4 separate regions of the Homo sapiens genome follow, and regions 1, 2 and 4 are each linked to region 3. The links are contacts of gene promoters, found by promoter capture Hi-C in blood cells and fetal thymus (Javierre and others, 2016). All regions are on one chromosome and are shown on one strand. Each heading gives the region's core, a stretch centred on a gene start or on the middle of the fragment in contact. The rest is flanking DNA. Distances are from core to core; before and after follow the strand shown. Region 1 has its middle 38 kb from the start of DDX18. Region 2 holds the start of LOC124907878 (a long non-coding RNA gene). Region 3 holds the start of DPP10-AS1 (DPP10 antisense RNA 1). Region 4 has its middle 20 kb from the start of DDX18.

Evidence for each region. Contacts are between HindIII fragments. The CHiCAGO score rates a contact against its expected background, and 5 or more counts as called.
Region 1: a fragment that was not itself captured here is called in contact with the fragment with the promoter of DPP10-AS1 in region 3 in 3 of 17 cell types (M2 macrophages, endothelial precursors and M0 macrophages); the score reaches 9.4 in M2 macrophages.
Region 2: a fragment that was not itself captured here is called in contact with the fragment with the promoter of DPP10-AS1 in region 3 in 2 of 17 cell types (endothelial precursors and M0 macrophages); the score reaches 11.9 in endothelial precursors.
Region 4: a fragment that was not itself captured here is called in contact with the fragment with the promoter of DPP10-AS1 in region 3 in 1 of 17 cell types (endothelial precursors); the score reaches 5.4 in endothelial precursors.

Annotation. Positions count from the first base shown.
Region 1 is chr2:117,774,888-117,777,812 of GRCh38, reverse strand. No RefSeq gene overlaps it. Among named protein-coding and RNA genes, the nearest start is that of DDX18, 38 kb to the left of the region's middle. The HindIII fragment of the contact is 7,818 bases long and covers 1-2,925 here.
Region 2 is chr2:117,757,736-117,760,871 of GRCh38, reverse strand. LOC124907878 (a long non-coding RNA gene) reads left to right here and starts at 279. Exons shown (of 2, transcript XR_007087210.1): 1 at 279-499; 2 at 3,098-3,136. The HindIII fragment of the contact is 568 bases long and covers 1,455-2,022 here.
Region 3 is chr2:115,159,729-115,162,750 of GRCh38, reverse strand. It overlaps DPP10-AS1 (DPP10 antisense RNA 1), which reads left to right and starts at 1,408. Exons shown (of 3, transcript NR_036580.1): 1 at 1,408-1,647. All of the region lies in intron 1 of DPP10 (dipeptidyl peptidase like 10), which reads right to left. The HindIII fragment of the contact is 8,601 bases long and covers 1-3,022 here.
Region 4 is chr2:117,793,231-117,796,176 of GRCh38, reverse strand. No RefSeq gene overlaps it. Among named protein-coding and RNA genes, the nearest start is that of DDX18, 20 kb to the left of the region's middle. The HindIII fragment of the contact is 7,003 bases long and covers 1-2,946 here.

The DNA of each region.
Region 1 (2,925 bases), core at 419-2,918, 2.6 Mb before region 3:
ACTGACTTTTTTTGGGTAACTGGTCATTGGATGTAACTGAGTCAGGGTACCTTTGTGGTTTGCTTGCTGTATAAGCATGTTTAAGAAGTTTCTCTTATAAATGCATTTAATGCATTCCTTTTCCCAATGCTTTCATAATATCAGCAAAGGATATCAATTTGCCAATATGGCTGCCATTAGCAGGGCTTTGAAGTGCCAGGGTCAAACATATCTTATTAGAATGGATTTAACCGTCTGTTTCTATTTCTTTTTTTTTTCTTTTTTTGAGATGGAGTCTTGCTCTGCCACCCAGGCTGGAGTGCAGTGGTCTGATCTTGGCTCATGGCAACCTCCGCCTCCCGGGTTCAAGTGATTCTCCTGCCTCAGCCTCCCCAGTAGCTGGGATTACAGGCACCCACCACCACGCCTGGCTAATTTTTGTATATTTAGTAGAGACAGGGTTTCACCATGTTGGCAAGGCTGGTGTCGAGCTCCTGACCTCAGATAATCCACCCCCCTTGGCCTTCCAAAGTGCTGGGATTACAGACTGGAGCCATCTCGCCCGGCTTTAACAGTCTGTTTCTAGAGAGAACTTCTTTTATTTGACAAACTCTAAGACTGTTGGGTGAAGAGCAAAGATTTTTCCAGGTATGGTGGCCCATGCTTGTAGTTCCAGCTACTTGCGAGTCTGTGGCAGGAGGATCACTTAAAGTTGAGTGCGAAGCTGCAGTGAACTGTGATTGCGTCACTGCACTCCATCCTGGAGACAGTGAGATTCTGTCTCTAAATCATAATAATGATAATAATAGCAACAAGTTACTAGTAGATACGACTAAGAGATTCTAGAAACGTTTTCTCACTTGAGAAATTAAAATCACCATCTGCAATGCAAATCCATTTTCGTCTTGATGATAGAAAATGTCCTTACTTATATAAGTGTCACCTAGCTTCTAATATCCTGTTGGTAATCTGGAAATTAGACAGAAAAATAGGTGTTTGACCATCAAGAGAGATCATTCAAGGTCCAGAATGTAAAGCCCATGTCCTTTACTTGAGAAAGTCTCTCGAGGCCTGTTAGTGTGTGGACTTTTAATTTTCCCACACTTCTAGAAAGCCTGGGGACTTTATTTTCCCAATCTACAGAAACCACGGATGTTGAGGGTTAGTGGGTGGACAGAGCACAGATACAGGGATCTACACTGATTCAGCAAGAAGCGATTGTTGACATTAAGAAGGACACTATAAAACACACTTAAAAAAAAAGACAGCAATTTCAGAACAAAATTTAGGATTGTTGAGTACGGGAGCAGCCTTTATCTCTCAGCAGTTCTTGAGAGTGTTACTAAATGATCAGTGGTTTCCAATGGCTATTCCTGGAATCTTATGGTTCTATGTCGTCTCAGGAATTCCTAGTGGGTGGGACTCTGTTGCACACCCATCTCTCTCTTCAACTCTTCTTTGTATCTATTTTGTTGGTTGGAATTCTAGAAAAGACTTCTCAGTTAAAACAGAATTTTAAAAATCGCATTTTGGTGTATAGTTTGATTCTGTAATGAGGCTGAGTCATAAAAGATTAAATGGTCAAACTCTGTGTAAAAGGCAGAGGACGATGTAACATATTTCAGAAACACTTGCATTAAAATGCTGAAAATATAAGTTTTGGCATAGTAGACTGTAAGTAAATCTTTGTTAAATGGATGAATTATGAAATGCAGAGAGAGAAACTCAAACTGTTCAAAAGTTGCCTTGCTCCACATCACTGAATAAATAAAGTATGACTGAATATAGTGCCTTTGTTGAGTGTATAGATATGTGAGTTCAATCTTCTAAGAAAAACTCAAATAGAGACTTGACAACATGTGGCCAGACACTTGTATCAAGTGCCTTCAAGTGTCATGCTGCAATCTATAAAACAGCTTTAAGCAATACATCAAACAAGTATTTGGAATGAAAGATGATGATTCATTCTCTTGCAGATATGGAAATTGAGAATAAAATAAGTTCTAGAGGCAAGTACAGTTTATTTTGTCTGCATAATGAATATATTTAAAGAAAAGTGGTTTTGTTTTCTTGAAGCTAATTGATTTGATTGTTGTTTTATGCATTGAATGTCTATTGTCAAACATGATTCAGAGCTAAACATGGAATGTAGTTACATCTATAACTACATAACTAAATATGTATAGTTAAAATTGTAAAATATGACATGTATAAGGAAAAGTATACAAAATAGAAATGTACAGCTCAATGATTTGTTACAGGAGTTGGCATATTTTTGTGTATAAGGCTGGATGGTAAATATATTAGAATTCATGGGCTATATGGTGTCTGTTAGGACTATTCAAGTCTCCTATTGTTAATAAAAAGACAGATACAGACAATGTGTAAACTAACATGGGCTGTGGTTTAATAAAGTTTTGTTCACAATAATCGGTGGGAGATTAGGTTTGGGCCATATTGTTTGCCAATCCCTGATTTATGACAATGCAAACCCTACTGTTTCTACCATCTAGGACTGGAAATACAATATTATCAACATTGCAGAAGCATCCTCATCTTCCCTTCCAAGCACCATCACTACTCTCTTGCTCCTATACTATCTTTCATGGTAATATATTCTTTGCTTTTCTTTGTAGTTTTATCAGCTAAACATACATACCTTACACACATACATTAATGAAGTCATATGGAATGTATTTTTTTCTCAACATTCTCTTCATCAGATTCATTTCTGTCACATGAAGTGGCAACTTTTTTTTTCATTTTCATTGCTGTAAAGAATTGTGTTATGTGAACAGTTCAACATTTATTTTCCAGTTCTAATGCTGGTGGACATTTGATAATTGATTTCACATTTTGGCTTTTATGACTAATGCTCTTATAAACATTTTCGTACATGTCTCTGCATGCACATGTGCATGCATTTTTGTTGGATGTACACTTAGG
Region 2 (3,136 bases), core at 489-2,988, 2.6 Mb before region 3:
TTGCCTTTATCTATTGGTCAAGTCATCAAGGAGCCCTGATTCTAGGGGAGGGACCCTCGACCCTACCTCCTAATGACAGACATGCCAAAGAATTTTGGGGCCATGTTTTAAATCCCACACAGCAGATGGTATAAATCAGAGGTTCTCAACCCTGGTTGTATTTTAGAAGTATTTTGGAGTTAAAGACAAAATACCAGTGCCTTGTGACCACCTCGAGAGATTCTGGTTTGGTTGGGCTAGAGGGCAGCCTGAGAGACTGTATTTTATATTTTTTTTCTAGGTGATTCTGACATGCAAACAAGCCTCTGGGCCAAAGTTCCTGTGTCCAAGGATTAAAAAAAAAATGGAGCATAAGTCTGAGGCTGTGAACGAGGCTCCTCCTGCCCTCTGGAGCTTGCTGGAAGGAAACACAGCCCAAGAAGTGGACTAAAGAGTTGTTCCAACACCACTGCCTACAAGATGAACTGCTTCCAAATGATGATAGAGGAAAAACTTTCAGGTAAATGGACCTGCCATCATCACACATGCTTTTTCTCATATTACATTTTACCTGCAGTTTGTAAATATTATAAAAAATCAATAAAGCTGCCATATTGCTGTAATCTAATTTGTCTTTTCTGATTGTGTGAAGCTGGAGGACACATTTGGCATCACATTTTCGGACCTCAGAGAGTGATGTTAAACATTTATAGTGCACTTAATAATCTGTCAGAAATGTACAAAGGCATAATGTCTCATTAATAATTATTAAATCATTGAGTCACACAGAAGGAGATGTTCCCCTCTTTACTTACGTAATGACCAGCAACCGCTAAAACGTAGCTCATTTGTGATGCACAGCCAGCACATCTAATAGTGGAAATCTGCTTGAGGAAATTAATAAGAAATCGTATTCAGAGATAGGATTTTAGACAGCAAGAAAACATGCATATGGATTGCTGCAGTATTCAGCCAGGGCAAATAGATGTTCCCTTCCTGATCAGAGTCAGGTTAAAATTCAGCCAGATAATTGCTGAGAGGGAAGAGATGTGAAAGGAAATGATCTTATTTGCTTTCGGAGGCTAGATAACTCATTTCAATATGCCCAGCTTTGGGCTTTTATTCATAGGTATATGTATCAGTTTATGAATAAAAGAGATACATATTTTGATTTGGAATGAGGTTGGGATGGAAGGTGCAATTTGAATTTTTCAAGACTTGGATTTTATTTCCAATGCTGTTTGTGAGGATTTTTTTAGTTTTTATTTTATAAGAACTTTTTAATACCAGGCAATGTCATTTTAGTAACACATAACACAAGAATTGAATTACATCTGTTGCATATCCTCTCCCTCCCTCCAATATTCAGCCTAGAGAATTTAAAGTTTTAGCCTTTAAAAAATTTACAGGCTGTGCTTGTCTTTATAGCAGCTGATGTGAAATCAACTCTTAGCTTCCATTTTCAACCTTAAGCTTTCTTCATTCTGGGTAAACTCAAGGCTTCCCAATCCGTACTGGTGATAAGTGCATGATCCAATCAAGCTAGCTGGTGGCTCAAGGTTGTTGACTAAAGAGTTGTTCCAAATTGCAGGATTGTAAAGGGTGTCCCATGCAGTTAGCCTGGGCCTGGTAAGACATTCTGTGCCACCAACATTTCTGTGGTCAAACTTTTGAAGTTTTTCACACCTTTCACACTCATTACTGTGCTGGGGCTTGTCTTTGGTAAAAGTGTTAAATACACAATATTTGCCTTTGGTGCGCATCCTTCCAGTTCTAGGCCAATAAGCAGGCACCACGTTTCTTCCTGCCAGTAGCTGTCCTGCATGGTTGTTCAACAAGCCTCGCCCATAGATCTTTGAGCCACTGTGGGATGAAGTATTTGTTACTTGCTATTTGGGGGGAAAATTCTCAGAACATATTATTGGCATTACTCACTAAGGTTTTGGAGAGGAGAACCAAAAAATGCCTTTGAAAGTTTGGTAAGATTGACTTTCATATTAATTTGCCTAAAAAAGTTTGTGCCCTCCCTTGTTCAGAAAAGCTTTAAAGCACTTCTAAGGATGCATTCAGTTTTTCAAATCAACATAAATAGAAGTAGGTGGGAAACAAGAAGAAAAATTACTGGTGGAGTTTTTTTTTTTTTTTTTTTTGAGATGGAGTTTCACTCTTGTCACCCAGGCTCGAGTGCAATGGCATGATCTTGGCCCACTTCAACCTCTGTCTCCTGGGTTCAAGCGATTCTCCTGCCTCAGCCTCCCAAGTAGCTGGGATTACAGGTGCCTCCCACCATGCCCAGCTAATTTTTGTATTTTTAGTAGAGACAGGGTTTCACCATTTTGGCCAGGCTGGTCTTGAACTCCTGACCTCAGGTGATCCACCTGCCTTGGCCTCCCAAAGTGCTGGGATTACAAGCGTGAGCCACCACACCCAGCCTTTTTTTTCTTTCTTTCTTTCTCTTTTTTTTTTTTTTTTTTTTTTGAGACAGAGTCTCGCTCTGTCACCCAGGCTGGAGTGCAGTGGCGCAATCTCGGCTCACTGCAACTTCTGCCTCCTGGGTTCAAGAGATTCTTCTGCCTCAGACTCCTGAGTAGCTGGGATTACAGGTGCCTGCCACCATGCCCGGCTACTTTTTGTATTCTTATTTTTTTTTTAGTAGAGATGGGGTTTCACCATATTGGCCAAGCTGGTCTCCAACTCTTGACCTCAGGTGATCTACCCTGCCTTGGCCTTCCAAAGTGCTGGGATTACAGGCATGTGCCACTGTGCCTGGCCTGGTGGAGCTATTTTTTTAATAGCCAGGAATGAAGCCAAAACAGCAATGCAGACCATGCATACAGCCTGTCATTCTTTTTAACAGGTGGGCCTCAAATTGTTCTGTAAGTATTCTAGAAACTAAATGAAAAGAGACATTTGTTTGGTTGTACTATTTAGGGTTCATGAGATTAAAAACAAGCCCATTTTAAGGAGATGCACAATTCATTTTGATACTGTGGCAGGAACAACATTCTTTTCGGGACTCTCATGAATGAGCCCACTGTGTAAAGTAACAGCACCTTCAACCTTCTCATTGCAGACACCTGGGGTTACATTGGTGTTTCTTTTGTGTTTCCCAATGCAGGCTGATAACATCACATCATAGCCCATGCCAGTGAAAATC
Region 3 (3,022 bases), core at 159-2,658:
ACGGACGGGAAAGAGACAGGAATAACCCTCAGCCCACGCAGGGCACCTCATCTGTGCAGACGCGACACATCCAAACCCAACACATCACCAAAGCCAGCGCCTTCCCGGCTCCACTTAATCGTTAATGCCTCGCCGCTCCCCAAGCTCCGTTCCGCTCAGCAGACTACGGATGTCTGGGACACTCTTCCCCCATCCCCACCTCACAAACACACACCCGTCTCCTCAAAAGAAACAAGAAAGCAGAGGGAAAACCCCGTCCGCCTAAAGGTCATTCGCCTGCTCGGGTCGCTTTGGCCAGCGAGCGCCCCGGCTATAGGAGGACGGGGCTCGAACCCGGTGAGCGGCCGTCAGGAGCGCAGCAGATTTCTTCAGCGTGCGTTAATGGGGAACCAAGAGGCCCCATTCCTTGGTCCCGGCCGCCTCTCCCTCCCTCGGTGGGCCGCCCGCCGGGGTTCCCCGGGGCACCTTCAGCCTTTACCTCTCTGCCCCCTTCCCCGCGGCTCTCCACCTTGCGCATCCTCTCGCCGGGCCCCGGAGCGCACGCAGAGGCTCTAACTTCCCGCAGAGTCCGTGGAGAAGCAGGAGAGCCTGGAACTGGGGCGGGGCGGGGGAGGGTGAGAAGAGGGAGGCGCGGGAGCCCAGCCTGGGAAGCGGGAGGCGGGCGGAGCGCGCACTGGAGCCACCCCTCCCGGGAGGGCCTGGCCGCGGCTGCCGACTCTCACCTGGTCCGCCGGCTGCGCCTGGCTCGCCCTGGCCCCCGGGGTGGGCTGCGGCTCCTGCTTCGCGGCCGTCATCGCCGGCGGCCCGCGCTGGCGCTCGCTTCCTCGCGGGCGCTTCAGACTCGGGGACCGTCACTTGGCAGCGTTCGCAGGTCACGGGCGCCCGTCGCTCCCGGAATCGGCGGAAGGGACGGGGTGGGGGGAGCGGAGGGGCGGGGAGGGGAAGAAGAGCGGCACCGGGCGGGCTCCCCGTCGTAGGGTCCCTCCCTCGGCCACCGCAGACCCTCTGACTCCCCGCTCTCCCCGCCCCCCGCCACCCAAAGCGCAGCGAGCCGCGGCGGCGAGGCGAGACCAAGCGGCAAGTTAGTGCAGCGGCGAGCGGCGGGGCCCCGGCCCCTGACCGAGCTGCGGCGACGCCTCGTGCCTTCTTCCCGCAGTCCGCGCCCCCCACCGCCCGCCCCCGGGGGCTCCCCGCGCGGTGCTCAGCGCGCCAGGTGGAGCAGCCGGGCGCCGCGCTCCGGCCTCTCTTCGGCAACCGCAGCCGGGGGGGGGGAGAGCCCGGAGCGGCGCGAGAGCCCCCAACCCGCGCGCCCACGGCCGCCGGCTTCCGCGGTTACCCCGCCCCCCGCAGGCTTCCGCTAAAACCCGGAGAAGCGGAGCGCGCCCGTGCGAAGCACTGGGTGGCTCCAGCTCCGCCACTGCGCGCGCTCCAGCGCCCCAGAAGGCAGGGGGCAGCCCGGGGACCGGGGTCCCGGAGCCCCGTGGGAGGCGGGCAACACCTGTCGGGACCCGAGGGCGTGTCTGAGATTGTGGCCTGAGGTGCTGCGCCTTCCGATCCGGGGCAGCGGGCGTCCTGTAGCTGCGCCTTCCGAATCCAGCCCAGATTCTCCTACCAGCTGCTTGGGTCACGTCGGTGGAACTCCTAAAGGTCGGTTAAAAACCATAAGAACTGTAATGATGATAAGACTCTGATACTCATTTCTTTTTTCTTTTTCTTTCTTCCTGGACACGTGTAGGAAAACCTTCAAATCTTAAGTCCTCCCAGCCTTTCCTTTCTTCAACACAACCCTCTCCCATTCAAAGTAGGTTTACCGAGCACCTACCACGTGCCAAACACACTGTGAGGCTCAGAGAGAGGGTCGCAGGGGAGAGAAACTAAACAACACGGCAAACCTACCAAATCCCCTGGCTGCAGGGAGCTTACGTTGTGTGGGAATTGGGAGCCCGGAGCCTGGATACAAATCAATGAGTCAATGTAGCTCTTAGGAAGTTGAATTACCGCGGATAGACAAAGTCCACAGTTCATCCAGATGCACTAGTGCACGTGGCTTTCCCTAGGGCGCCTAAAGCCTGTGGACCACAAACAGCCTCCAAGTCTCAGGCACAGGTTGTGGAAGATTGCTTACCGGAGAAATGGCAGGAGTGAGTTGAATATTTAGGTGTTCATGTATTCAGCACAAGACAGTTCCAGCAGAGAGGACAGAGAATATGGGGCAGTGGGGTGGCAGTGAGTTGGGCTTTATTGGCTAAGGACTGGCTCCCTGCTCTGAGCCACTCAGTCCATTAATTAGTCACTTCTTAACTGAAAGACTTTTGTAGAATGGTAGGAGCTGTCCTCTTGCCTTAGTAGTTTCTAAAACACGAATTATAATGTTGTCCTAAATATTAATTGTAACGATACTTCCTATAAAGTATGTATTTTAAAATAAATATATCAGTAATCACCAGCAGAAAGATAGAATTAGAGGTGAGTGGAGATCTTGTTTTTCAAAAATATGTATTCCAGTGCATATTGTGAAAGACCTATTTATTCTGTTTCAGGAGAAATAACTTTTTGCTAGGAATAACTTTGCAAGTTGCAAAAGCATAAAGCAAATATATATTTTTAATGAAACATTAGTGTAATAGCTATTGGGCAGCTTATCCAGTAATTATGACAATATAGATATTCCCTCACATGTAATTCTTTTGGAGGGAGGGCATCTGCATTATTCAGAAAATGTTCGCATTTTTATATTTTGCTCTTCTGTTGATTATTTGAGTATATTCATCCTTTCATTGTGTTTCCATTTCGGACAATCTGCTTGAGTTGAAGGAATTTACTTTATTACAGAGATATCTGTCACACAGGATAAGTACATGCTGGAGGGAGATATCCTTTTATATAAGATTACTTATTTGATTGAGTTCAACTGTTGAATTTGCATCTGTGTTCTGAATTCAGTATAAAATCCACTTCATTACAAATAAAGACAAACATTATTATATGTTTCATGTATTGTGGGGGTCTGTGTGTGTATGTG
Region 4 (2,946 bases), core at 410-2,909, 2.6 Mb before region 3:
GGGGATGGCATTGAATCTGTAAATTACCTTGGGCAGTATGGCCATTTTCACGATATTGATTCTTCCTAACCATGAGCATGGAATGTTCTTCCATTTGTTTGTATCCTCTTTTATTTCATTGAGCAGTGGTTTGTAGTTCTCCTTGAAGAGGTCCTTCACATCCAACAAGGGGCTCAATTCTAAGAAATTTCCATAGGTATTGGTGGCTCTTATTGAGATTCACCTGCATCTTCTAATTGACCCCCACGTCCCCACATTTGCATTCTCAATGTGTCTTCCTGTCATGTACATGCCTCATTGTCCCATGCTGTAGAGGTTACCTGTGAGTCTATAGCATCAATATTATCTACACATTTTGGGCCCTCTAACCCCTGTAGTGGTTCATCTCCCTCTAGGTTCCTTAGATAAGGCATTGAAATGGAGCAAATGGTACTAAAAAGTGTACATCATTAGTTATTTTCTATTTTTGTTGTCTTCTCAGCTCAACCTAATATTAAAAAGTATTATATTTAGTGCTTCATTCCCATAGGCTTGTTTTTTGCAAATAGCTGTCTGTGAATTCGTATGCATAAGACTTCCTAGAGTAAGGATAAAGGTGGAGGCAAAGGAAGGCCTAAACTATGCATGTGGTGGTATTAGCTGACAGCATGTCCAGGTAACTGGCCATTATTGATTCCCTTTATCTTGGGTTAAACTCACTCACATAGTCACTTACCTCTGTGACTATGAAAGAAGAATGCCTCTTTATTCTTTTTTCCCTTTTCATTTGGTTTGCCTTACACCTGTGTGAAAGGAATAATTATACCTGCAAGACCTGGAGCCAGGCTATAAAAACTTGGGACAAGTTACTTAAATTTTCGTGCTTCATTTTCTTATCTATAAAATGGGGATGATGTTAGTAACTACCTCATTGGATCACTGAGAAAGTGAAATGAGTCAATATGTGTCATGTGCTTAGAACAATCCTAGTATACAGAAAATAGCTCAATAAACATTGGCAGGTATCATTAAGGTGTTTCTCTGGTTTGCTGTTTTGTGTTTGTAAAGAAAGCCTTAAGCAGGCTGAAAGTAGCTGGAGAGCTCGTCAAAGATGTGCTTTGTGGGTTCTGGGCTCGTGGTGCCACAGGGAACATATCTTATTATATTTGTTTTGTTTTTCTAGCATGCAGTATGGTGGCTGACACATGGTTGAGATTCAATAGAAAATGAATGAATGAATGAAAATGCTCTCAGTCCTGCTTAGATTCTTGGCTATAGGCATGCCTCCTTTCATACAGACATGTGAGTCACACAGTACAGCTCAGAAACCTTGGCTTGAAATTCTCCAAGGGGCGGGAGAAGAATAGAGCCTTTTGGAAGCACAGACTTTAAGCCATAAAGTACCAAGGACCCATTTTAGTAGATCACTTCTGTACAGATTTCACCATTAAGAAAACTTCACAGACTCTTGCAGTTGAGAAGTGACTCCCATGTTTTTCTACTTGAAGTAACATTAGCACTACTGATTTTTCAAGGCTAGCAAGTAGGGTCAACTGAATAATGAGCAGATTAATCAAGACTTCAGATGCTGCCTCTAGCTCATAACTTATAGACTGACAGGTTCATAATCTTTAAAATCATAATTTTCCCTAGGGTAGAGGACTTTTCTATGATAAGCTGTTCTGTTTTTTTTTTTAATATGAAGGTTCTCAAAAAAAGGATTACAATCTCTTTTCCATCAACAATGTGCACCTCAATTATTTATACCTATTCAGCTACCAAAAAGAAATGTTTTAAGGAATCATGGTAAGGGATTCTCTCCCTTTCTCTCTCTCAAATACACACAGAACTATGGACTAAACCTGCAGACCTAGCTCACCCTTTTCAGTACCTAAAGTAACTTATGGCCAAGAAGTCACCTAGAAATATGTAGTTTGCCATTAAGTCATTATGGCTCTGGGTTTAAAATTTCTAGTCCACAGTCTGCTCCTAAACAAAAGTCTGAGAAAATACATCCATCATCGCTCAAGTTCTGTACAGTATGTGCAGTCTTGAGAATTTGGATTTTTGTGACTAGAACAATATATTAAATCATATAATTTGTTTTTGCTTGTTTATTTGTTTGTTTTTTTTAGGCAGAGTCTCGCTCTGTTGCCAGGCTAGAGTGCAATGGCATGATCTCGGCTCAGTGCAACCTCTGTCTCCCGGGTTCAAGTGATTCTCCTGCCTCAGCCTCCCAAGTAGCTGGGATTACAGGCACCTGCCACCACGCCTGGCTAACGTTTGTATTTTTAGTAGAGATGGGGTTTCACGATGTTGGCCAGGCTCATCTCAAACTCCTGACCTCAGGTGATGCACCCGCCTCTGCCTCCCAAAGTGCTGGGGTTACAGGCGTGAGCCACCACGCCCAGCAAATCATATACTTTTAACAGGGCTCAGAATTGAATAAATACGTGATTTAAAAGTTCACGTGGCTCATAGTGCTTGATTAGAGATCTCCTTAGAAATGTAAATATTAAAAAGTTATCAAGAGGTCAGGTTCAATGGCTCATGCCTGTAATCTCAGCGTTTTAGGAGGCCGAGGTAGGCAGATCTCTTGAGTCCAGAATTCGAGACAAGTCTGGGCAACATGGCAAATCCCTGTCTCTACCAAAAAAAAAAAAAAAAAAAAAAAAAAAAAATTAGCCTGGTGTTGTGGTGAGCGACTGTAATCTCAGCTACTTGGGAGGCTGAGGCGGGAGGATTGCTTGAGCCCAGGATGTTGAGGCTGCAATGAGCTATGATCACACACTGCACTCCAACCTGGGTGACAGAGTGAGACCCTATCTCAAAAACAAAAAAAAAGTTATCAAGATAATACTTGTAAAAATAAAAATAAAAAGTACTGTGACATTTACAAGGGAAAAAATAAATCTCTCACTCCAGTCTTCATCACAGTGGAAACTTGCTTTAACTTTCTGCTCTTTC